2 separate regions of the Homo sapiens genome follow, and region 2 is linked to region 1. Evidence: promoter capture Hi-C in human tissues and cell types (Jung and others, 2019). All regions are on one chromosome and are shown on one strand. The core of a region is centred on a gene start or on the middle of the fragment in contact, and the rest is flanking DNA. Distances in the headings are between cores, read along the strand shown.

What was found. The method cuts DNA at HindIII sites, captures the fragments that hold promoters and counts their contacts. A contact is called where the count stands out against the background at its distance.
Region 2: a contact is called between a fragment that was not itself captured here and the fragment with the promoter of ZNF460 in region 1, in 1 of the 25 tissues and cell types used here (aorta).

The regions. Positions count from the first base shown.
Region 1 is chr19:57,278,389-57,282,780 of GRCh38, forward strand. ZNF460 (zinc finger protein 460) reads left to right here and starts at 2,097. Exons shown (of 3, transcript NM_006635.4): 1 at 2,097-2,448. The coding sequence starts at 2,419. ZNF460-AS1 (ZNF460 antisense RNA 1) reads right to left here and starts at 1,946. Exons shown (of 3, transcript NR_136529.1): 1 at 1,891-1,946. RefSeq lists enhancers at 1,293-2,232, 1,347-1,938, 1,356-2,555, 1,939-2,530, 3,459-3,578 and a silencer at 2,953-3,002. The HindIII fragment of the contact is 9,196 bases long and covers 1-4,392 here.
Region 2 is chr19:58,335,908-58,340,299 of GRCh38, forward strand. It overlaps ZSCAN22 (zinc finger and SCAN domain containing 22), which reads left to right. Exons shown (of 3, transcript NM_181846.3): 3 at 2,347-4,392. The coding sequence ends at 3,419. Among named protein-coding and RNA genes, the nearest start is that of MIR6806, 3.4 kb to the left of the region's middle. RefSeq lists an enhancer at 2,604-3,105. The HindIII fragment of the contact is 3,367 bases long and covers 496-3,862 here.

The sequences.
Region 1 (4,392 bases), core at 847-3,346:
AGTTTATTAAGAAAGTAAAGGAATAAAGAATGGCTACTCCATAGACAGAGCAGCCCCAAGGGTTGCTGGGTGCCCATGTTTATGGTTATTTCTTAGTGACTTGCTAAACAAGGGGTGGATTGTTCATGCCTCCCCTTTTCAGACCACATAGGGTAACTCCCTGACATTGCCATGGCATTTGTAAACTGTCGTGGCACTGATGGGAGTGTAGCAGTGAGGAAGACCAGAGGTCACTCTTGTCACCATTTTGGTTTTGGTGGTTTTGGCCAGCTCCTTTACTGCAACCTGTTTTATCAGCAAGGTCTTTATGATCCGTATTTTGTGCTGACCTCCTATCTCATCCTGTGACTCAGAATGCCTTAACTGTCTGGGAATGCAGCCTAGTAGGTTTTAGCTTCATTTTACCCAGCTCCTATTTAAGATAGAGTTGCTCTGGTTCATATGCCTCTGAAAAAACCATTTAAATTTAATTATAAGAGTCTGGCCAGAGGGGGTGGCTCACGTCTGTAATCCTAGCACTTTGGGAGGCCGAGGTGGGTGGATCACCTGAGGTCGGGAGTTTGAGACCAGCCTGAACAACATGGAAGAACCCTGTCTCTACTAAAAATATAAAATTAGCCAGGCGTGGTGGCGCACACCTGTAATCCCAGCTACTCAGGAGGCTGAGGCAGGAGAATCGCTTGAACCCGGGAGGCGGAGGTTGCAGTGAGTGGAGACTGTGCCACTGCTCTCCAGCCTGGGCAACAAGAGTGAAACTCCATCTCAAAAAAAAAAAAAAAAAAAAAAAATTTAAGAGTCACAAATATGTGAAAAAGAGAATGATGTCTTTATCAATTTTCAAAAATTACTATTGCCAGTGATGAATAACAGTGTTCCTTGCACACTAATTTAGCCAAAAATATTTCTCCAAAAGTACCGCATCGTGTAGGAAATTGACTCCATCTCCATTCCTTGACTATTTTCAATCTCAAAATTAAATCTCTTGGAGAGTACTTTCTGCACACCTTTCTATTTCCTTAACCATATATATCGTCAAACCATTGAAAGCTGGACTTTATTCTCTCACTTTCATAGTCATGAAAAGAAAAAAAAAAAGTTACTGATGGGGACTCCTAAGACTTCGCATAATATAATCTTTGCATAGTCTAGGATTGTTAAAATTCCTAACAAGACTTTATAAACTCTCCTGTCTGCAACCAGTTAATGCTGGGTTGGGCCAGGGTTCCCCTCTTTCCCGTCACTTATCCATCTACGCTCATTCTTTTCATAGCCTCACCCAATATCATGACTTGAAGTAACAGTTTACAGTAATAACTCCCAAATTTATATATCCACGCTCGAACCCTCTGCCAATGTTGAATCATAGGTTGAGTATATGGCACTACGCTTTGTGGTCTTACTGACGTTTCAAACTGATCATGCTTGAAATGGGAGTACTGGGCTTCCCGGCAAGCCTGCTCCACTAGCAGCCTCCCCACCTCAGGGTACGGGAAGTCCACACGTGGCGAACGCGAAGCCTATTACATCACCCGGAAGTCCCTGCATCCTACGAAGGCTGGGCCCGGCCAAAGGAGGCCCAATAGAGGGCGGTCTGTCCTTTCCCAGCAGGCTGGGCACACTGTCAGGCGTCCTCCTTTGGGTGGCTATTTTAACTGCTCATTTATCCTTTTCTTCTATGAAAAGATCCAGAAAAGAGGCAAAGCAAGCGAGAAGTCGCGGGCCCAGCCCACAGCAGGGTAAGCACCTTTGTTCGGGGTCTGAATCGGGGCGAATATCCCCGCCTCCTGACCTCGATTTTCCTGAGCTAGAAGGGACCTTTCGACCCTCCGACTTGTGCCTATACTAAGGCGGTGGCCCTAAGACGACGCGGGGGTTCTGGTGCGCACTTACGTGCAGTCGGATGCGCTGGGTGAGTTCCCACACCCGGTAGATGTAAGGGAAAAACTGCATTACCCAGAAGGCACTGCCCCTTGCGTCGGCCGCGGACTCTGGGCCATTGACGACCCAGGACAGGAGAGTTTTCTGCGGGCCAGGGCGGCGGAGGCGGGACTTCCGCTTCTTCGTGTGACGTCATCTCCGTGGGCCGGTTTGGCCCTGAAACAGTGTGGGGCCTAGAGCGCTGGGTGGGCGCGTTCTGCGGCCTGAGCAGGGACGGGTAGTGAAGCGGTTACGCCCCTTCTTCGCGTCTTGGCGGGAGCCTGACGCCCCGCTTCTCCCCTAACGAGGTGTCCCACCGGCGCCCGCCGAGGCCTAGGCCTCCGCAGCCGCCCTCCGTCTCCTCAGCCCCGACGCTGCGCCTTGGGCCTTGTGCGCATTTTTTTCGGGGGAAAACTGAGGCTCGGAGTGCGAAAGTCAGCCGAGGTCGCCCCGCCCAGGACAGAGAAGGGCTGTGGTCGGCTGATCCGCGGCATTCCCGGGATGGCGGCGGCGTGGATGGCTCCGGCGCAGGTGAGTGGACGAGGTTTCGGCCTTGCTGCTGCTGTGCTATTTCTAGAGGCCTCGTGGGCAGGCTGGAAGCCAAGACAGCCACAGGATTTTTCTTTGTCGCCATCGTTTATTTAAGAGAAATGGCCGTGGCTTGTCATTTCCTTTATCCGCAGTCCTGCAACAGTGTTGGCCTCTGATAGGTGTTCAGTCCGTGGTTGAAGGAGTGATGCTTCCTTCTAGGGATCTCATCACACTTCCCCTAAATCCAACCTTCTCTGTTGCCTGCCAGCCCGTACCCCATCCACCTGGCCAACCACCCCTGACCTTGTCTGTTTGCATTTTTCCCTGGTCCTTTGCTCTTCAGAGCCACCAACCTGACCGTGCAGTCCTCTTCCATTTTCCAGGCTTTCTCCTTGCACTTCCTTTTACTTCGAACACTGCCCCTGTAACTTTGCAGGGCCTCCCTTTCACATCCTTTTGGCATCTGTCCAGGTGTCACCTATTTGGAGGTGCCTTTTTTGGCAATTCCGGCTAAAGTGGCACCTTACACCCTTGCCCAGAGTCTGGTATTTTTGTGTAGATAATCTGATGGTATTAAAGAAGCTTGTGGATTTGAGTTTGTCAAGGATGTAATGGGAACAAAGAAAAATAATTGCAAAGAATGATATTAACTGTCATTGAGTCCTTGCTGTGGGCTGATCGGTGAGTATTATTTAACCCTCAGTTCGTTTAACCCTGAAATTTTTTTTTTTTTTTTTTTTTTTTTTTGAGACGGAGTCTTGTTCTGTCGCCCAGGCTGGAGTGCAGTGGCGTGACCTCGGCTCACTGCAACCTCCGCCTTTTGGGTTCAAGCGATTCTCCTGCCTCAGCCTCCTGAGTAGCTGGGACTACAGGTGTGCGCCACCACGCCTGGCTAATTTTTGTATTTTTAGTAGAGACGGGGTTTTACCGTGTTGGCCACGCTGGTCTTGAACTCCTGACCTCAGGTGATCCACCCATCTGGGTCTCCCAAAGTGCTGGGATTACTCTTTAGAATTAGGTTCTGTTGTCATCATTGTTTTACACAAGAGCAATTTGAGGGTCACATACGTCCAATTACCTGCCTTACATCACTGTAGCTCTTAAGTTTCTTAAGTCAGAAACTAACAACTGGTGTGTCTAACATCATAGCCTGTGTTTTTACCCTCTTCTTTACCCGCAGTGGTTAGGGAGGCCTGGGGGTGAGACCTAAAGTAACCTTTGCAAGATGAGGCCTCCTTCTAGCCAGTGATCTTGGGCATGAGGAGTCATGGCCTTTCATACTGGTGGAACTGTGTAGACTTAAAAAATGGTATATTGGTTGTTTAAGGAGTTCTCAGGGGACCTGTGTGGCTTCCACGGTGGTTTTATATGTGGTTCCCCTTACTCCCTTACCTGCTGACATATTCTGAGAGGGCACGTTTGTATGGTTATGTTGCTGAATGTACCCTCCTACTCAGCCAGGATAGATGTAATCTCCAGATGGGCCCATATTGTCTTGGCTACAACCTGCTGTGCCCTCTATGACTCTTGTTGCTTGCTCATGGAATCTTCTGGCCTCAGGGATGCCTGCTAGTAGGACTTAGGTAGAAAAGGAAGCGATGGCTCATTGTGAATTCTCCCTGGAAGCAGGTCCAGGCCCTAACACCTGATCAGGTGTCACCACGTCAGGTGATTCTTTGGTGAGGTGGATGATGATGACTACACTTCTCTGCCCTTGTCCATGGGAGTGGCTGAAATGTATATGTGGATTTGAAATGCTTCATTCTCATTAACTGCATTAACTTTGCTAATAGAGAAATGTCAGGTTACATAATCAGACCAGAGGGCCCTGGGCTTAAATCCTGCCTCTGTTGATAAGACCTGTGACTTTGGGCTGGGCTTGGTGGCTCACACCTGTAAACCCTGCACTTTGGGAGGCTGAGGTAGGTGGACTGCTTGAGCCCA
Region 2 (4,392 bases), core at 929-3,428, 1.1 Mb after region 1:
AGGTCCAGTGGGATGCAGGGAAGACCCAGCCTTGGGACAATCCAGAGCAGGGAGTGGTGGCTCGTCTCAGATGGGCTTGGCCTGGCCTATTGGCAACAGATAGGAGGTGGGCATACCACACACTGGGAGGAAACGTGCAGTGTGCAGGAGGAATGTGGAGTCTGGATACAGCTGCATCATCAAGGCTCAGTAGATCCAACCGCTGCTGCTCTTCCTGGCCATGTGACTCCCTTGTGCCTCAGTTTACTCATGGGTAAAATGGGGATTGTAATAAAAACGCCCACCTTAGTGGTGTTGCGAGATACAAGGCAATACCCGTGCAGCACCTGAAATGGTGCCTGGCACAGATTAAATAAATGGTAACTGCAACTGTTAGGATAATTTGTTCAGCTCTGGGAGAAACAGGCCTCTCTGGAACAGAGGTTGGTCTATGCCCAAGCAGATGTCACAGAGACAGGGAGAGGAAGGAGGGAGTGGCCCCATCCTCCCACAGGGTTGGCCAAAGCTCAGAGAAAGGGTAAAATGCAGAGGGAATGGTGGGGTCAAAGGCCTGGCAGTGTGATTTGCACTGGTGTATTCTGGTAAAAGCAGGTGGTGTGATGTTTCTGGATAGAGGAAGGAAGGGGGAGACAGGGCCAAGCAGATGGCTGGGGGAGCAGGGGAGACTGCCTGTGGACCTGGAGGAGAACATTCTGGAGCTGAAATCCCAACTGGGCCACTAGCTAACTGTGATCCTGTACCAGTTACTCAACACCTTCCCTCAGCTGGATTTCAGTTTCCCCATCTGCAACAGAATCACAGCAGTACCTCCTTCTGAGAGCAGGTCGAAGCTGAAATGAGGCGATGGAAGTCACCCACTGTGCTTGGGGCCCAGCACGACAAGAGCCTGATAGTGGTTAGTGGCCCTGGAAGGCCAGCGGCACAGCATCCATGGCTTACAGATGGGGAGACTGAGTCCCAGATGAGGGCAGGACTGATTAAGGTGGTAGACCTGGGGTTTGAGTCCAGTTTCTGCACTGCTGAGCCCCACTGTGGACTTGAGCAGTGGGTATTCCACCTGTCTCTGCCTCCTCCCTGGAATCCATCCAGTAGATGTGCCAGATTATGTGTCCTTTGCACCCATGCAGGGCAGGTCAGTGCGAGCATTCCTCTACCTCATGCACACTCTGATCTCCAAGAGCACCTCCGCCACACTCTGCCTTCATAGTACTTTACAATGTAGGGGCTTGAGAGGCCAGATGGGTACCTCATGTACTCACCCCCAGCAGCCATATTCTACCTGGGGTTCTACTTGCAGAAATTTTCACCATCGTGGGCTTCTGGATGGATTCCCTCATTCAGCCAGAATTCACTGAGCACCTGTGGACACATCCAGGCCTAGAGGCAAGGTGTTGAGTGTGAGGGACAGAACCGCAACCTCACAGAGATCAGAGCCTGCAGGGGACACATCCAGGCCTAGACGCAAGGCGTTGAGTGTGAGGGACAGAACTCCAACCCCACAGAGATCAGAGCCTGCAGGGGACACATCCAGGCCTAGACGCAAGGTGTCGAGTGTGAGGGACAGAACTCCAACCCCACAGAGATCAGAGCCTGCAGGGGACACATCCAGGCCTAGACGCAAGGTGTCGAGTGTGAGGGACAGAACTCCAACCCCACAGAGATCAGAGCCTGCAGGGGACACATCCAGGCCTAGACGCAAGGTGTCGAGTGTGAGGGACAGAACTCCAACCCCACAGAGATCAGAGCCTGCAGGGGACACATCCAGGCCTAGACGCAAGGTGTCGAGTGTGAGGGACAGAACTCCAACCCCACAGAGATCAGAGCCTGCAGGGGACACATCCAGGCCTAGACGCAAGGTGTCGAGTGTGAGGGACAGAACTCCAACCCCACAGAGATCAGAGCCTGCAGGGGACACATCCAGGCCTAGACGCAAGGTGTTGAGTGTGAGGGACAGAACTGCAACCCCACAGAGATCAGAGCCTGCAGGGGTGCATGTGCTCAGGGTCCTGACAAGGACAGACCCTCCCTCTCTCTCTGTCTCCAGATCAGTTCCACATCAGGGTTTCTCCTCTTGACTCTTGAGCCAAAATTGGGAGCCTTGAAAGATGGCGAGTTTGGTGGGAGGAGGAGAAATCAGAACCCATGGTGTAGTTTTGGATGGTGTGGGAGGACAGCCCTGCACCCTTTGTCATCCAAGACACCAAATGAGAAACTTCCCCTTGGAACTGGGGCCAGATGTTAGGAACGGGCCACATCTCCCCTTACAAAGTGTGACCGGGGCCCTCGGCAGAGTAGGGGAGGCTTGGTGTGGTAGGAGGAGTGACAGTGTGGTTCGGACTGTTTCAGGATGGGATCCAGGAGCCGAGCCCACAGAGGCAAGCTGCAAGCAGAGTGACCTGGGAGAGTCAGAGCCATCAAATGTCACTGAGACCCTCATGGGAGGTGTTTCCCTTGGACCCGCCTTTGTCAAGGCATGTGAACCTGAGGGCAGCTCAGAGAGGTCTGGACTATCAGGGGAGATCTGGACAAAGTCTGTCACCCAACAGATCCACTTCAAGAAAACTTCAGGGCCTTACAAGGATGTCCCCACAGACCAGCGTGGCCGTGAATCTGGTGCCTCGAGGAACAGTTCTAGTGCGTGGCCAAACCTCACCTCCCAAGAGAAGCCTCCTTCAGAAGACAAATTTGATCTGGTGGATGCTTATGGGACAGAGCCTCCATACACCTACTCAGGGAAGAGGTCCTCCAAGTGTCGCGAGTGTAGGAAGATGTTCCAGAGTGCTTCGGCGCTCGAGGCACACCAGAAGACCCATTCTCGGAAGACCCCATATGCCTGCAGCGAGTGTGGGAAAGCCTTCAGCCGGAGCACTCACCTCGCCCAGCACCAGGTTGTCCACACAGGGGCGAAGCCCCATGAGTGTAAGGAATGTGGGAAGGCCTTCAGCCGAGTCACCCACCTGACTCAGCACCAAAGGATTCATACTGGAGAGAAACCCTACAAATGTGGGGAATGTGGTAAAACCTTCAGCCGCAGCACTCACCTCACCCAGCACCAGCGGGTGCACACGGGGGAGCGGCCCTACGAGTGTGACGCGTGTGGGAAAGCCTTCAGCCAGAGCACGCACCTGACTCAACACCAGCGCATCCACACCGGGGAGAAGCCCTACAAGTGTGACGCGTGTGGCCGAGCCTTCAGCGACTGCTCAGCCCTGATCCGACATCTGAGAATCCACTCTGGAGAGAAGCCATATCAGTGTAAGGTTTGTCCGAAGGCCTTTGCACAGAGCTCCTCCCTCATTGAGCACCAGAGGATCCACACGGGAGAGAAGCCTTATAAGTGCAGCGACTGTGGGAAGGCCTTCAGTCGTAGCTCAGCCCTGATGGTTCACTTGCGGATCCACATCACGGTGCTGCAATGACCGGAAGTCGCCCCTGGGGGCGTAGCACAGCGTCTTCTCGGAGGCTCGAGGTCTAAGAGAAACGCTGAGTTCCTGAAGAGCCACAGACAGGGTGGGTGATTGATGAGTTGTCAAAATGATAGGTGCCTGAGGGCAGACTCGGGCTGTCTAGGAACCACTCTGCATTTGAGGAACCCTGATGAGCACAAGGTGATTCAGGCCAGCTGGAGAAGCTTCCAGAAGGGCCCTGCACTGCTACCCTCTATTTCCCACTCAGGGCTGTCCCAGAGAGAAGGCAGCCGAACTGAGGATTTAGACTGGTTCTGAGGGCCAGGGCAAATGAAGGCGCATGTCTCTCAGAACTCAGCGTCCCAAGACGCTCTGGGCGGGCCAACTGTAGCTTGTTCTCATGTGGTTCTTCTTGCCTGCTTTTCTGCTGCTTAGCCCAGAACGGACACCTGCCATGCCCACCTCTGTGCCTTGGCACCTACTATTTCCACTCCAGACTATTTTGTGCCTAACTGCAAGGCTGACTTTTGAGACTGCCTCTTCCACGATGCCTTTTCTACACTCTGCCTCTCTCATGGTTTCCTGTCGTAATCAGTGGTGCTGCTTGACACCTGCCCAGCATGTTCCTGTCTCTCCTTTTCCTTCCACATCCCACCAGTCACCAGCGCTATTGTTTTAACCTAAAGCTTATCTGTAATTCACCTCCTTTTCCACCACTGCTACCTTATGTGAGCCCTCATTGCCTCTTGCCTGGATTATAGCCGGGGTCTCCTTCCTGACCACTTCCTGCCTTTATTCTCTGCCCCTGTATCACTCTCCAGGGGACTCTTGATATTACTTAGATCTGACTGTGTCACTCCAAGGTGGAAAGCTCTCCAACCCATCTTCTACAGCACAGCTTCCTGAACAGGGTATAAGTATGCTGAGATGCAGGCTGCTCTGGGCCCCGAGCAACCTCTCCAGTTATCCTCATATGCATGTATGA